3 separate regions of the Homo sapiens genome follow, and regions 2 and 3 are each linked to region 1. The links are contacts of gene promoters, found by promoter capture Hi-C in blood cells and fetal thymus (Javierre and others, 2016). All regions are on one chromosome and are shown on one strand. Each heading gives the region's core, a stretch centred on a gene start or on the middle of the fragment in contact. The rest is flanking DNA. Distances are from core to core; before and after follow the strand shown. Region 1 holds the start of CAGE1 (cancer antigen 1). Region 2 overlaps LYRM4 (LYR motif containing 4). Region 3 holds the start of CDYL-AS1 (CDYL antisense RNA 1).

Evidence for each region. The method cuts DNA at HindIII sites, captures the fragments that hold promoters and counts their contacts. A CHiCAGO score of 5 or more calls a contact.
Region 2: a contact is called between a fragment that was not itself captured here and the fragment with the promoter of CAGE1 in region 1, in 2 of 17 cell types (naive CD4 T cells and activated CD4 T cells). The highest score is 8.7, in naive CD4 T cells.
Region 3: the fragment with the promoter of CDYL-AS1 here is called in contact with the fragment with the promoter of CAGE1 in region 1 in 1 of 17 cell types (activated CD4 T cells); the score reaches 5.7 in activated CD4 T cells.

What each region holds. Positions count from the first base shown.
Region 1 is chr6:7,386,555-7,391,652 of GRCh38, reverse strand. It overlaps CAGE1 (cancer antigen 1), which reads left to right and starts at 1,911. Exons shown (of 14, transcript NM_001170692.2): 1 at 1,911-2,451; 2 at 4,457-4,674. The coding sequence starts at 4,480. It overlaps RIOK1 (RIO kinase 1), which reads right to left and starts at 1,845. Exons shown (of 17, transcript NM_031480.3): 1 at 1,580-1,845. The coding sequence starts at 1,650. RefSeq lists enhancers at 1,173-1,959, 1,563-1,982, 2,113-2,162, 2,173-2,232. The HindIII fragment of the contact is 2,322 bases long and covers 159-2,480 here.
Region 2 is chr6:5,254,024-5,259,153 of GRCh38, reverse strand. All of the region lies in intron 1 of LYRM4 (LYR motif containing 4), which reads left to right. It also overlaps a transcript of FARS2 not described here. Among named protein-coding and RNA genes, the nearest start is that of LYRM4, 4.4 kb to the left of the region's middle. The HindIII fragment of the contact is 3,663 bases long and covers 1-3,612 here.
Region 3 is chr6:4,773,523-4,778,538 of GRCh38, reverse strand. CDYL-AS1 (CDYL antisense RNA 1) reads left to right here and starts at 3,113. Exons shown (of 2, transcript NR_183279.1): 1 at 3,113-3,267; 2 at 3,782-4,013. It overlaps CDYL (chromodomain Y like), which reads right to left and starts at 2,135. Exons shown (of 7, transcript NM_004824.4): 1 at 1,732-2,135. The coding sequence starts at 1,755. RefSeq lists silencers at 1,784-2,333, 2,354-2,983 and an enhancer at 2,791-3,444. The HindIII fragment of the contact is 2,312 bases long and covers 2,122-4,433 here.

The DNA.
Region 1 (5,098 bases), core at 662-3,161:
GTAGAAGTCGGGATGGCAACATCTTCCCCAATGGAAAATCACTGGTGTATCCTTACAATACCCTGGGGTGGATGGTAAATTAGTGCCCTCTCATTACCATTAACTACCCACTAGCTATGCTGGCTGTGTTTCTTCTGCTGCTTTTCTTCTCTAAAGCTTTTTGTACACTTCTCCGTAACCATAAAACTGGAATGCCCTTCCTCTTTCTCTGGCTAACCCCTACTCATCCATCAAGTATCAGCTCACTATCACTTGCTCAAGGAAGTCTTCCCTATTTTTCCCCCACTTCTCCTTTGTACTACTTACCCAATTCGAATACAAATAGTCTAATTATTTAATAATATCGGTTTCCCCTGCTAGGGTGCAAGCTCTGTGTCATTCAGGATGGTATTTACCAATGCCTCCCTACCACCTAAGACTAGATCTGACTCACAGAAAGCATTCAACATACATATATTTATTGAAAACATCCCCAATAATTAACAAAATCCGCATGTGATGAATCCTTACTGTAAACATAAAGTACAAGCTGTTTTCTTGGAATTCCAAAATAACTCCAATATGTTTCATTTTGCTTTTAGGCAGGAGTTATCCTTCATCCCTCTTTCCCCAGACTCCACGTCCAGTCTACCACCAAACGCTGCCACTTCTACCTCCAAGACATATCTTTAGGATCTGGGCTCTAGTCCCCACCATCTTTGAATCTGATTACCTTATTATTTTTGAACTGGTCTCTCTGTTCCACTCCCACCCTCCATGAACATCATCTACCTAGAAAGAATGATTCCTTTAAATCACCAAGCAAATAATGTCATTCTTCTGCTAAAATCCCTCCTATGGCTTTCCATAAGACCCACATTAATATCTGAACTTTTCACCATCACTTGTAAAGGTCTCCATGATCTGGCCCCCCTTCTTACTTCTCTATCACCCTACCAATCTTCTCAACTACCTCCACTGTGCTCTAGGCACTCTGGCCTCGGGGCCTTTGCTCTTGCTGTCCCTTCTGTGTGAAATGCTGTTCCCTCTGCTCTTGCCAGGATTAGCTCCTTGTCATTCAAATCTGGACTTAACCTTTCCCTACCCATTCAGTCACCACTTGGTATATCAAACGATTTGCATAGTCTACATCATTATTTGGTTTTTAAATGGTGTGCCCTCTCTTTCACGTAGAAGGTAAAGTTCCATGACAGCAGGAAGTTGGTTCTTCTTGTTACCTCCGGCGCCCAGGACAGAACGTGGTACATATTAAGTGCTTAGTAAGTATTTGTTGAACGCTAAATGTGGTTAAAACGCAAAAACCCATGTTTCCTAATCGCTATCCCCAACTCTGCCTCCCAGTGACGCTAACCGACCTGAGAACCGCAGACTCCCTTGACAAGTAGCTTTCACTTAACTCTGCCGCGTGAACTGGGAGAAAAACCCAGCTGGGATGCAGAAACAGGCAAAGGGTTGTCAAGAGAGACGCTGAGTGATGAACCACTAGTCTCCCTCTAAACCGCAAACAAGAGTCCACACCCCAAGGGGGCGGTCAAGGAGAGAGCCGTACCCAGAGCCAGGGCACTGTACGGCCGCCTACCTGTCAGAGGAGTCCGCGTCGTCGAATTGCCCGGGGACCACCCGGCTCATGAGAAGCCGCCGGTAGTCCATGACTGGAGAGCGCCGCCGGAGGCCGCCGCTCTGCGATGGAAAGGAACGGCTCAGACGGATGTACCCACGGCCGATCCAAAGGCCTTGGCGTGGATATCCGCCTTGCAAACCATTCAGAAGCCAACAGTGGCCACCACGTGCGACGGGAAAACGGGACCGACAGATCCACCACCCTGCCACCCCAACCGGAAGCCCCTCACCGCCTCGCCCGGAAGTCTGACTTGAGCGGAAGTCCCGCCCCTGCGCCGAGCTGGGAGTCCGGAGCTCTCTGGATGGCGCGCTGTATAGGGCTGTGGATGTTCTGTGCTCTCAGGAAGGCGTGTTGAGTAGCCGGCACGGCGAGGCCCGTGCTGGCCGTTTCTTCCCGGAGTTTTCGTTTCTGTACCCCACTTTGTGTTTACTGCGGCAGGAGGCGCCAGCTAGCCCACAGGCTGTTCGGCCTAGGGGGTCGTACCTTCCTAACTTCACCACTCTCTGGGAAGACACCGCACCCACAGTAGGGTCGCTCGGGCCTCGCGGGCTGCACCTGTCTCTGCGGAGTTCCCCCGGCGCGGGCGGACGTCACACAGGGGCGTTCCAGCACTCCGGGAGCCCGATTGCGAGTTTGTGAGAGTCCTTGGTGGAGGAGGTTGGAAAGCGTTCTCCCTCCCACAAAACCCGGTGCAGAGGGAGGGAGAGCCAGGTCCGTAGCGTGGGTCCAAGAAACTATGGATCCTGGAAGTGAGCACACTTTTGTGTCTTAAAAAGTTTGGTGTCTCGTTTTGAGGTGAAAAATGAATGAGATAAGTGCTTTTTAAAAAGGTAAAGTTTGTCTTACAACTGAAAAAGCTTTTAAACAAAACTATAGTTTTTGCGAGTAACTCCCGTGACACCTCTTTTAACTCCTATCTTAAAACAGCTTTAGAATGTCTCTGGAACATCTATTCAAACATTTGATAAATATGTTAAAAATCCAACATAAACCTGTAAGGACAAATGAAAGATGGAAAAAATAGTCTAACTTTAAATTAAAAAGGTAAACTGGCAGATTGTGCAGTGCCACATGAGGGATGAACAAAGTTGTAGAAATGTAATTGGAAGTGCTGGGTTCACAAACAAGAAAACTAAGAAACAAGGCCTTTGCGCTTTTTTGCATTGGGAAAACAAAGCAAGAATTTTTCAGATCTCACCACAATCCAGGCAGCATTATTTGAAAGACAAGGGAGAAGTGAGCATAAAGTTGGGCCTTTCACTGATCCTGACTGGTCTGCTTGGCTTACTTTTTTATATTTTACCAAGTGATGACATAGGTTTGAAAACAACTAATTTTCAATAAACTATTCATTCAGAAATTCAATAAAAGAATCCAGGCAGATGAGTAATGACTATAAATTGAAAGAGCTTGATAGAAATAAGTCATTGGAATGCAGGTTTTATTCAATCAATATTTGCTGTGTAGACAGCACTGGTCCATTTGCAGTAGGGGATATTGGAAAGCCCTAAGTATGCTCCTCTCAAGACATTTATGATCTGTAAACACAAACACTAACACCCTTGAAACAGTGGTGAAGCTCTAAAACAGTAAACGAAATCACCAAGTGCTGAATTGTAAGATAGAGATTTAGAGACTGAAGACATTGTAGGAATTTTGAAAATAGATGAATGGGTAGATGGGAAGGTTTTAGGAGAGAAGCACGTGCCAGGGCAGATGACTGAAGCTTAATTCGTAAGGAACATTATCTGTCTGCAGGGAAATGAGCCTGATCTGAGTAGAGCAGGGGAGTACCGGGTAGGGGATGTCACTCCAGGCTATGGATGGCCTGGAAGGACAAAAATTTATAGAATCAATGTGAGTGGCCATCCTTTCCACTCTCAGCTCTGGAGCTCTGGACAGGCCTGAGGAAGTCAGGAGAATATGGACCAGTGTGGCAACATGGGATGGAAAGAAAGCACAGGTTACTGAAAGACTTTTTTTTTTTTTTTTTTTTTTTGAGATGGAGTCTTGCTCTGTCACCCAGGCTGGAGTGCAGTGGGCCATCTCGGCTCACTGCAAGCTCTGCCTCCGGGGTTCACGCCATTCTCCTCCCTCAGCCTCCAGAGTAGCTGGGACTACAGGCACACGCCACCGCGCCCAGCTAATTTTTTTTTTTTTTTTTTTTTGTATTTTTAGTAGAGATGGGGTTTCACCGTGTTAGCCAGGATGATCTCGATCTCCTGACCTCGTGATCCGCCCGCGTCGGCCTCCCAAAGTGCTGGGATTACAGGCGTGAGCCACCGCGCTCGGCCCTGAAAGACATTTTTAAAGGAGACATGGACGGGACTTGGTATCTGAATAGCCATGCATGATGAGGTAGAGGGATGCCAAGACAAGTCCAGTTTTCAAACACATGTACCTGAGGGAATAGGCGCAGTATAGGAAAGTGAGGAGGGAAAACAGTTACAATGCTGGGTTTGACTTGGTAGTGAGGTGTTCAAGTGGAAGGTATCAAGTAAATAAAAATCCAGGATTTTGTGGAAACTATTAGGTCTCTGATAATATTTTGTAAATATCCTTGATTAAATAACACAGAGATCCCTTCACTTCTAGGTCCAAAGCCTTCTAGGGAGTTATTGGATAGTAGCCAATACTGTTTGTTTTTCTCCAAATCAGTATTTACTACCATACCAAATTACGGTATACTCAGACTAAAATTTTTAATTTTTCTAATAACTTGACAAATGACATTTCAAATAAGGGCAGTGAACTTTGCTACTTTCTTAATGAGAAGAGGGATAGGGAAAAAACTTTTTGTTTATACCTACTAATAGACACATTTTTTTTTTAAAGAAGTCTTCTATTGTTCAACAGTTATGAACAAGGACTATCAAAAATTTTGGTCATCACCTTCAGATCCTGTACATTTTGAAGTGGATACTTCTCATGAAAAAGTAGAAAGCATGTCAGAATCGGATACCATGAATGTCAGCAATCTTTCTCAAGGTGTAATGCTTTCACATTCTCCAATCTGTATGGAAACCACCGGCACCACTTGTGACTTGCCTCAGGTGTGCATTGCTTATAAGTTCCAGGAGGCTCAGATGTATTCAGAATTCACATTGTCTTCCATATGAAAATTTCTTCAAAACTATAAGGAACAATAAAACAATATTCGGTGGACACATAAAGGAGGGGAATACAGGGTCTGGTTTTCCCAGTTTCGCTAGCGTAAGATACATTTTGACCAGCCTGGGCAACATGGTGAGACCCCATCTCTGCTAAAAATATAAAAATTAGCCAGGCATGGAAGCGAGCACCTGTAATCCCAGCTACTCTGGAGGCTGAGACAGGAGAATCACTTGAACCTGGGAGGTAGAGGTTACAGGGAGCCAAGATCGCGCCACTGCACTCCAGCCTATGCGAGAGAGCAAGGTACATTTTTACACACAGTGTTAAAACTGATCCTTTCTAGCCAGGAGTGCAGCCAGGGGA
Region 2 (5,130 bases), core at 532-3,031, 2.1 Mb after region 1:
AAAGTGGCAGGGAGAGGGTTTATGTGAGAGCATGTAAGAAAGTCAAGGTGGAGCCCTCGAAGACTAACTTGGACAAGTCTCTCAATCTCTGTATTTCAGTTTTCTTGTTTATGAAATAGACTGTTGGACTAGACAATCTCTAAGGACCCTTCCATTTCTGAAATTCTCTTTGGAAATGATTTATGAGCAAATGAGGCCCAAGCGTTTTCAAATGAGTAATTGCCAACTGAACAGGAAAATCATTCACGAAACTCAACAGGAAAATCATTCAAACTTTAGGAAAATCATTCAAGACTCTACCTGAAAGGCAGAAAATTGAAAATGGGTTTCAGTATGGGCAACTGTAAGATCATATGCATTCAGAAAATAATTGATCAAATTATACCTTAAGCATATACTTTTAAGCTAAATTTACTATCCAAATATAAATATATTATCCAAAGGAATCTGATAATCATTTTATACTGTTACCTGAGATCATAGACCTAAAAACCGACATTCCTGCTATTACCTCCCTAGATAAACTTACTTGTTATAAAAATACGTCCTTTTACATTAAGGCTGTGTCTTGTGAATTTCAGGAAAAGTCCCTTCCCTCCTCTCTAATCTCTGCAGCTGTTTGTCACTGATGGCAAATCAATAGCAACACAACATCCACTATCAATTCTGTGTGCCACTGCTATCTTATGTTCTTCATGTCTATTAACACATTTGTTTTGACAATAATCTTGTGAGGTAGGTACTATTTGTATTACCCTGTAAGGCAACTGAGGCACAGGGAGCTTAAGTTACCTATCAAAACTAACACAGGTAGTGCTGAATAAGCAATCAAAAGCAGACTAGTAAACGTTTTTTAATGACCTGCGAATTGTGCCTTAAGTAATTAGAGTAGTGAAATAAATACTTTGGAACTCTCTTGCAAGACCTATAATATAGGCCACGTTTTGATAGCAGGAGCCCTGTCTGCTCCTCCAGTCTCAGCCTAAGTCCCACATGTGCATCCTGTCCTCTGTCATCATCAGTTGCAGTTTCCTAAATGTGCCACGTCCTGTTGGGCCTCCAGGCCTTTACAAGTACTGTTCTATCCAGCAGGCCCTTTATCACTCCTGTCTAGAGTGCCCCCTCTTCCTTCAAGATTGAGCTCAATTGTCACCTTCTCTGAACAAAAGTTTTCCCAACTCTCTTCATCCCACAGCTTCCACTCCCATCCCTCCCACCAGCCAAACAGGTCTCATTGCTGTGTGTCATTCTTTTACCTCAGTGCTTCTACAAAACATCTCTGAAGCATGCTTTGCCCAGTGCTATATCACAGCTATCCCCAACCTTCTTGGCACCAGGAACCAATTTCATGGAAGACAGTTTTTCCATGGACCGGGTCAAGGGAGGGGATGGTTTCGGGATGAAACTCTTCCACCTCAGATCATCAGGCATTAGATTCTCATAAGGAGCATGCAACCTAGATCACTCACATGCACAGTTCACAATAGGTGCACCTATGAGAATCTAATGCCGCCGCTGATCTGACAGGAGATGGAGCTCAGGCCATAATGCGCACTCACCCACCGCTCAACTGCTGTGTGGCCCGGTTCCTAACAGGCCACGGACCAGTACTGATGGGTTGGGGACCCCTGCTATACCAAGCCCTGGAGAGAGAAAGATGAGATTTTTGAACTAAGCTAGGCACCTGTTATCAATGGCTTTACAGGCCTATGTGGGACACAGGTACAGAGATAGTTGTCACAGACTGGGTTAAGTGCTGTGACAGAAGGATGTACAAGGTGTGGAATCTAGAAGGCCTCCCAAGGGGTGATGTTGGATCAAAGGCATGAAGCAGCTTGGTGTGGTCAGGCAGGCAAACAGCACAGCACTGCCAGGGAGGTAAGTATGATGGGGTTGGGGGGGCGGTGACAGGAAGGCACTGAGGTTGGAGAGGGCCACTGATTTGAGGGCCTGGGGGCCGTGCTGAGGACCCTGGACTTTACCCTTAGCTCACAGGCAGCCACTAACCTGACATGACCAGATTTGCATTTTCTGATAGATCACTCTGGCAGCAGTGTAGAAGATGATTTTGAGGGGCCAAGGACATCAAATGGGAGTTGATTACAACAGTGCAGAGTAGAGATTAGGACGCTAGTAAGGACAGGAATAGTGGAAGATAGAGAAGAATGTTGTATTTGATAAATCATTAGAAGGGAAAATTGTTGGAACTGGAATGATTGGATTGAGGACTAAGGAAGAAGAGAATCCAAGCAGAGTCTAGAATGGCATCCAGGTTTCTGGTTAAGCTAAAGCACAGAGAGGGTGAATTTAAACTTGCACCATTAACTGACTCAGGTAATACAGAACTAGCTGGTCTTGTGGAGAGAGGGTTTTTTAGTTCATATTTAGGGTATCTTGGGTGTAAATTTCCCCTGGGATGCCCAGCAGAGGTAGTTAATCACAGGGCTCTGAAGCTCAGAGGAGTGATGAGCACTGCAGTAGTCAGCACCACCAACTCTGTGTGACCCCACGCAAGTCACATCACTCTCTGTTCTGCAGTTTCTTTATAAAATGAGAGTCATAATTGATCCATCTCACACAGTGTAAAAGGGTCCTGAGACCAATAAGTTTAAGAACCACATTCTTTTTTTTTTTTTTTTTTTTTTTTTTTTTTTTTTTTTTTCCAGTTGAAATCTTGCCCTTGTTGCCCAGGCTGGAGGGCAATGGTGCGATCTTGGCTCACTGCAACCTCCACCTCCCAGGTTCAAGCAATTCTTCTGCCTCAGCCTCCCGAGTAGCTGGGATTACAGGTGCCTGCCACTACGCCTGGCTAATTTCTGTATTTTTAGTAGAGGCGGGGTTTCACCATATTGGCCAGGCTGATCTTGAACTCCTGACCTAAGGTGATCCGCCCACCTCGGCCTCCCAAAGTGCTGGGATTACAGGCATGAGCCACCGCGCCTGGCCAAGAACCACATTCTTAAATTTTGTCTTCTTGGCTCTTCTTCAGCCAACTCCTTCAATTCTGATGTTCCCTAGAATAGCATCCGTAGCCACTAATTTTCTCACCTTAAACTAGGATTTCTCAATCTTGGCATGACCAACCTTTTGGGCCAGCTAATTCTTTGTTAATGGGGGCTGTAGTCGGCACCACTGTGGTGAGTTAATACACATCAAGTACTTAGGATAGTCCCTGGTGCAGAATAGGTACTTGATAAGTGGAATTATCATCATAAGTCAAATTAAAACCTAGATATTAGATGAATTATCTAGGAATACTATTTAGGTTAGTAGTTCTCATCCTGGGGTGATTTTATTTGACAATATCTGAAGACGTTTTTGGTTGCCACAACTTGGAAAGGGGGTGCTAGGCATCTGAGGCCAGGGATGCACAGGGGACAACCCCCATTAACAAAGAATTAGCTGGCCCAAAAGTTTGGTCATGCCAAGATTGAGAAATCCTAGTTTAAGGTGAGAAAATTCGTGGCTACGGATGCTATTCTAGGGAACATCAAAATTGAAGTAGTTGGCTGAAGAAGAGCCAAGAAGACAAAGTTTAAGAATGTGGTTCTTCAACTTAACTGGTCTTAGGCCTTTTACGTTCTTAAATATTACTGAGGACCCCAAAAAGCTTTCATTTATGTGGGACGCATTTATCATATTAGAAAAAAAAAGCTTTTAAAAACACCTATTTTAAAGTGACTAAATCCATTATGTTAAATAACACTTTTATGAAGAATAACCATTTTTCCTCCCCCTAAATCAGCAGATTGATAGTTTGACACTAGTGCAAGTCTCTTTCATGTTTGGCTTAATAGAAGACAACTGGGTGCTTATATTTGTTGCTATCTACAATTTGTTGCTATATCACATATCACTTAGTGTCTAGTAATTTCCCCTGTATACTCATGAGAGAATGCAGATGTCTTCCTGATAACTATGAAAATAGTTTTCCTGGTGGATCCCCTGAAAGGTCTCAGAGACCCCCGCCATGGTCCCTTGGCTAACTACTGTAGGGTTGAAGAAATGGGAGGAGATCAAGTAAAGAGTAGTGTTGCAGAAGTCAAGATAGTCATATGTTTGGGGAAGGTAGCTGTGGTCAGCAGGGTGGCTTGTCTAAGCAATATCCAGTTCATAAAGAGGGCAATGTAGAGCCTCTGGTACCATTACCAGAGCAGCATTGTTAGTCAAGTGGTTATGGCAGAACCCAGATTGTGGGGGTTGAGACATGAATCAGAAGTGCGTAAATTGCTGCCGTGAGTAGAGATACCCCCTCCACCTCCCACCGGAATTTTGGTTAATAAAACATGAGAGTAGATAACCGATAGAGCAGGACCCCACGAGAGGTGAAAAGTGGTACCTGAGAGCACAGCTGGTGGGGTTGGTCTTGGACAGAATGAACGGTATTTCATTTTACATGAGTGGAATGAAGGAGAAGAGGGCAAGTTGGAGTATGAGAGGGTGGAAAGTTGAGTTTATTTGTGCCAAGCCTGACAGCCAGTTTCTGGGTTAAGCGGGAGATAAGCAGATGTTGAGGAAGCACCTGTTCTTACCTTTGTTAGGGCACATATCACACATACACAGTTACCAGAAATTCTGTCTTATCTCTATTCCTAGTGCTTAGCATAGTACCTAGGTAGCAAGTTGGTGCAAAAGTAATTGCGGTTTTGGGCCATGAATTTTAAATTATTATAACTAGGATCAAATATATCTTTATTAATCAAAATAGGAACTATTACAATCAACATGTTTTTGCCAACAAGAAATAAGTTTATTCCTGTGGCGTAAAAATCCGTGCTTCGGGATTCTACAAACTCTTGGAAAGCATTTTCTTCATCCTGCTAGTCAAGGAAGCGTTTTCCCTACAAAAAGTTGTCGAGATGCTTCAAGAAGTGGAAGTTGGTTAGCGAGAAGTCAGATGAATATGGCGGATGAGGCCAATTCGTTCAACTTGTGAAGCGTTGGTTTTGTGACATGCAGTCAAGGGTCATTATGGAGACAGTTGGGCCGTTTCTGTTGACCAGTGCTGGCTGCAGGCATTGCCGTTTTCAGTGCATCTCATGGATTTGCTGAGCATACTTCTCAGATGAAACAGTTTTGCCGGGATTCAAGAAGCTCTAGTGGAGCAGACAACCAAACAGTGAGCATGAC
Region 3 (5,016 bases), core at 1,864-4,363, 2.6 Mb after region 1:
CCATATGGCAAGCATTCAATAAACGTTAAATGAACACAAACTTAGTACAAAATGTTACTCATTAATAACTTCTGTTAGGAACAGAAACCTGAAGATATAGAATAAGCACAGAAGGAACTAAACTTAGTTCATAATATACTAATGGGAAATGTGCTGTCTTCAGAATCATTCTTACACACATAGGATACAACTTACGTATAAGGTGCTACTCTCATCCACTGATGGAACTGATTATGTAATCATACTCATAAAAGCAAATGCCAAGAGTGAACACTCATGACTAAACAACCAAAGAATGATCTAATGTAGAAACTAAAATCCCCCATACCCTCATGCTATGTACTTCCCCCTGTACAGACTTCACCTGGAAGACCTCAACCTCAAACATCCTAGCCTCCATTTCTGTGTCTTCCAGACACACAACACTTTCCTTCCTAGAAGGAAAGCTCCTGAGAACAGGGAGATTTTTCTTCTTTTACATCCCCAAATGACCTAAAATAGTATCCTGAATACAGCGGGGCACAGCTAATGTGTAAAATGGTTGAAAAGAATGGAACATTTTCAGTACCAGCTAAGGTATACTGACCACATACAATGTAAGGAGAAGCAACAACCTTACCCTTAATTCTACAGATGGCAGCTTCCTCCTGAGAACTTCTGCAAACACTTGCTCTTAAAAAGCAACAAAAAAGTTGCTAGAAGACTAACATCGCAGACAACAAAGCTCTATTCTATGCCAACAGCAATAATACGCCCATAAGAGAAGACAACTGAAAGGATCCCTGGGGCCACAGGGCTCTACTTGTTACAGATGCTTCCTTAAGTCCCTCAACACCCAGGTCCCTAAACGCATCATAAAGGTGAGTCTAGAGAGTCTTCGCAAGTTTTAAGTCTCTTAGGAACTTATTTATAAATACATGTGAAACAAGAGAATCATTTATCCAGAAGAACAGAAAGCCTTCCAAACTTCTGTACTCCCAGGAAGTCTACTTTGAAATACGTCAAAAGAAGTTACATGGAGACATACAAAACATGTCTAAAGATCCAAATTGGTAACTCTCAAACTTGAAGCTGGTTTAAACCCATCGACCAGAACTTACAGTTCTGGCTATGCCCTTCTCATTTGCAACGCTGCGGCGCAAATGAATGACGGTGTATCAGCGTTAAATTTAAATTTCCTGGCTCTGGCCACAATGCTAACCTAATTAAAGCATGTGGTCAACGTTTAGCATTTTCGGTGCGAGATTTTGCATCGCTTTGGCGAACAGCAAAGTCGAAAGCGTTTGCACCGGTCTTCTCCCCGCCACCCCCCGACCAGGGGCAAAACCCTCTCCCAAATGCTTTATCAAATGATCCAGAAACCCCCCCACACCCCACCCCCCGTACCGCCCACGGTCCCCGCCGAGCGGCAACGGAGGCACCACTTCCACGACCCACGCCAAGAGCACTTTGAGCTCAGTCCGAGCAAGTCACTTGTGTCAGCACCACTTCCCCACGGCTGGGACCCCCCCCCCCACCCCACGCCCGGCAACTTCAGGACCCCCCGGCCGGGGCCCCTCGGAACGGAGGCTCGGGCTCCCCTCACACACATTTCCCGTCCAGCAAACTGCGGCCGCGGCGGGGGAGGGGACGCGGCGGGCGCGGGCGGCGAGCGGGGCCGTCGGGCGGCGCGGCCGGGCCGGGAGGGGCGGCGGGCGGGGGGCGGCCCGAGGCCGGGGGGAGGGGAGGTACCTCGTACAGCTCCTCGGAAGCCATGGTGGGCGGCGGAGTTGCGGGCGGGAGGGGCAGGGTCGGGGCGGGCGCCGGCGCCGGGCGGCCGACACTTTGTTTCAGTTGGGTCCTGCGTGGCCTGCGCTTCCTGCTCCCGCGGCCGGCCGGGCGCTGGGCACGGACGAGCCTCTTGCACTCCGCGGCCAGTGCGGGCCGGCGGCGCGGCGGGGTTGTGCGCAGGAGCAGCTACGCAACGCGCCCTGGGCGCCCCGCGCTCACTCCCCGGCGGGCCGGCTCGCGCTCGGGCTCATCGCGCCCCGCCGCGGGGCCGGGCGGGCTGGGGCGGGCGCGGCGGCGTGCGGGCGGCGCGGCCGGATCGCGGCTCCCCTCTCCGGTGTAGTGCAGAAAGCTTCCTACTTGCGACCAAAAAACCTGCCCCGGCTACTGAGCATGCCCAGTGCGGCCGCCCGGCCCTGCGGAGCCGCGCTCCCGCGCTCCGGGTTTTCGGGCCGCCCGCGCGGGAGGGGCGGGGCGGCGGCGGGGCGGGGCAGCCGAGGGGAGCAGTGGGCTCCGCTCGGGGCCGAGGCGGGCGGCCGGCGGGGCCGGGAGCGAGCCGGCAGGAAGGGGAGGAGCGGGGCAGTCGGGGGCGGGGCCGCGAGCGCGGGGGGCGGGGTGGTGGGCGGGGCTCCGACTTCCCCAGTCCCGCTTGCGGGGTCGGCCTGGCCCGCGGCACCGCCCCCCAGCCCGCCTCGACGTGGGCGCTTGCGGCCCGGCCCAGGGCAGGCGGGACCTGGACCTCGAGGTTCGAGGCGCAGCGCGGTTGTGCACACCAGGACGGGCAGCGACGGACCCGAGATGGGGCAGGGAACCATGCGAGCGAGCCGGCCCGCGTCTGGAGCCCACCGCCCCGACGGCAGCGGCCGCGCCGTCTACCGCGCGCCTCCCTCCAGGAGGAGCCCAAGAGGCGGCCTCCGTGCGCCCGCCCGTCCGGGGCCGGGCCAGCCCGCGAAGGGCCGGCGGCGTGGCCAGGTGGAGCACCCACCCCACCCCATGCCCGCCCCACCGGCCGCCGCCAAGACCCGGAGCCCGGGCCGCGCGCCCCGCGGGGTGGCCCGGCGAGCTCCGGCTGGCACGCTGGCTCCGCGGCAGGCCGGGGGTGGGATCCGGGGGGCGGGAGCCGGGCGCGGCGGAGGGCGGCGCGAGGGCGCGGCTGCCTCCGCTCTGCCCGCAGCTCCCCCCACGCCAGGCCTCTGGGTTCCTCTCGGAGCGTCCGCCTCCTCCGAAGCGCAGCTGGGAAGGGACCGAGTCTGGATTCCAGGGAGGTCCGGGTTCTAATCGAACGAGGCTGTCAATGGTGGTTCCTTTCGCGGAACGGTGTGGACTACACGACAGGCCCTCGCTCAGAACAGCGAGGGCTGGCCCGCGCTCCACTTCCCAGGGAAGATCTACTGCCAGGGCACACCTGCCGGGCCCTGGACGTGCCCCATCGGTGGCGAAAGAAGGGGCTTCCTGACCCAACTCCCCCAGACAGCCGCCAACTCCGATCACTCTGGCCGAGTATGCGGAACTTCCCCACGGGGCACTGCAGAGGCATTAGTTCACCCTCTCCCCCAGGCCCTGCATCGGGAAGCCCTCGCCAGTTCCTCCATGTCTCCCCGGGCATCCTTCGGGCCGCCTCACTCCTCCGTGCTCCATCTCGCTCCAGTTCCTAACCTACCTTGGAGCCACAAGGCTCCTCCCACCAGTTTTCTTCCTAAAGCCCTATTCGTTTGTGCCCCCCAACAGCGTTTCAACAACCACGGGGCGTCTCACAGACCCCGCGGTTTCCTGTCCTCCCCACGCCCAGGAACAAGCACCACGCCAACCCTTAAGTCACTGCGAGTCGAATCGCCGTTCCCCTTAAGCGGTGCTTCTACCTGCGGTCCCCACCGTTTGAAACAAACTCCCAGCTCAGGGATCACCTTAAAAGGATAGCCTTCCTGACTTCCAGGGCCAAATCGGTAACTCCCTCTTCAAGCGCTGCCTAAGCACTCACGCGTGCTCACTGCAGCACTCGTCTCTGTATTTTAAGGTTTGTCTACTCTTCACCCCACCCCAACTCCAAACGATGACCTTCAGTCAGACTTCATCTTCAAATTTGACGCTGGCCCCTAGCACCATTCTCTATACAGGAAATAAGGTGTTGTTCAATGAATGGAATTTCAGTGTCCACGAGAAAGCCCAATACCTACACATCCAATTCCCATTATCAAATGTTTGCACAAGAATCGCAAATTAAAGCCACCACTTCATCAACTGGTCAAGGCGCCTCAAGCTCTGCCTCTTTCCCTGATGGCCCAGCCAATTCCCTCTCCCTCCTCCAAACAGCGCCTCTTTCCTCTCACTTAGCATTTCCATTATATGCTGCATTTCATTGTTGCCTTCTCTCTAGGTTTACCAATTTATCAACAAAAGTTGTAAGTTCCTTGAAGGCAAGGACTAGGATTTTATACATTTGGGAAATCTCAAAGCATTGAGTGCACACTTCGGCAAGCGCTCAAATACTGGCAGGTGATAGTTTAAAATCCCTCAAGAAAAATCAACTGTAAAAAAGAGATCCTCAATAGGAAATAGATACATATAACATATAAGCCTATTATGCAATGATGGACCAATACAAATACAAGCACTTCTCGCCATGACCATTACTCCAATTATTGCCCCCTTCAGAACATCCACAAGCTTAGGCATTCACAAGGGGCTCCACCATGTGCGTAATGGTACTGTGGTCTCCAAGGAGTCTCCAAAACTGCCATTGTTGCCCAGGAGAGGGAAAGAAAGGAACATAGACATCCACAACAAACATATCCAGATATTGAGCTAGTAAGGCGATTTTCCCCATTGTGGAAACAAAAAGGGGAAGAATTATAGCCTCAAAAAGGCAACTCAAAAATGTCAATTTACATAGACCTTTGTCAATTTACGTAGCTTTTCAATCTTGACAATCTGGAATGTTTATGCTGCTATCCTTAGTCTACAACATTAAGAGTAACCACCAGTAGCCTCTAAAACAAAGCAGGAGTGAGCCATACTCCTAAGTTCCAACCACCTCTCCACTCTGACAGTTGGCTTCCACTGGCGAAGGAGATGGGTATCCACCTAGCGACTGAGAAATTGAGGAAGTTCTCAATTGTCCACTTTGTTCCTTTCATCTGCCCTCCATTTAAAACTCACTGATTTATGGAATGCTATTTTGCTTATATATACATATATATTTTAACCTCATTCGTTCAATTTGTCTTACTTTTAAGCAAACTTTGCTTTCCT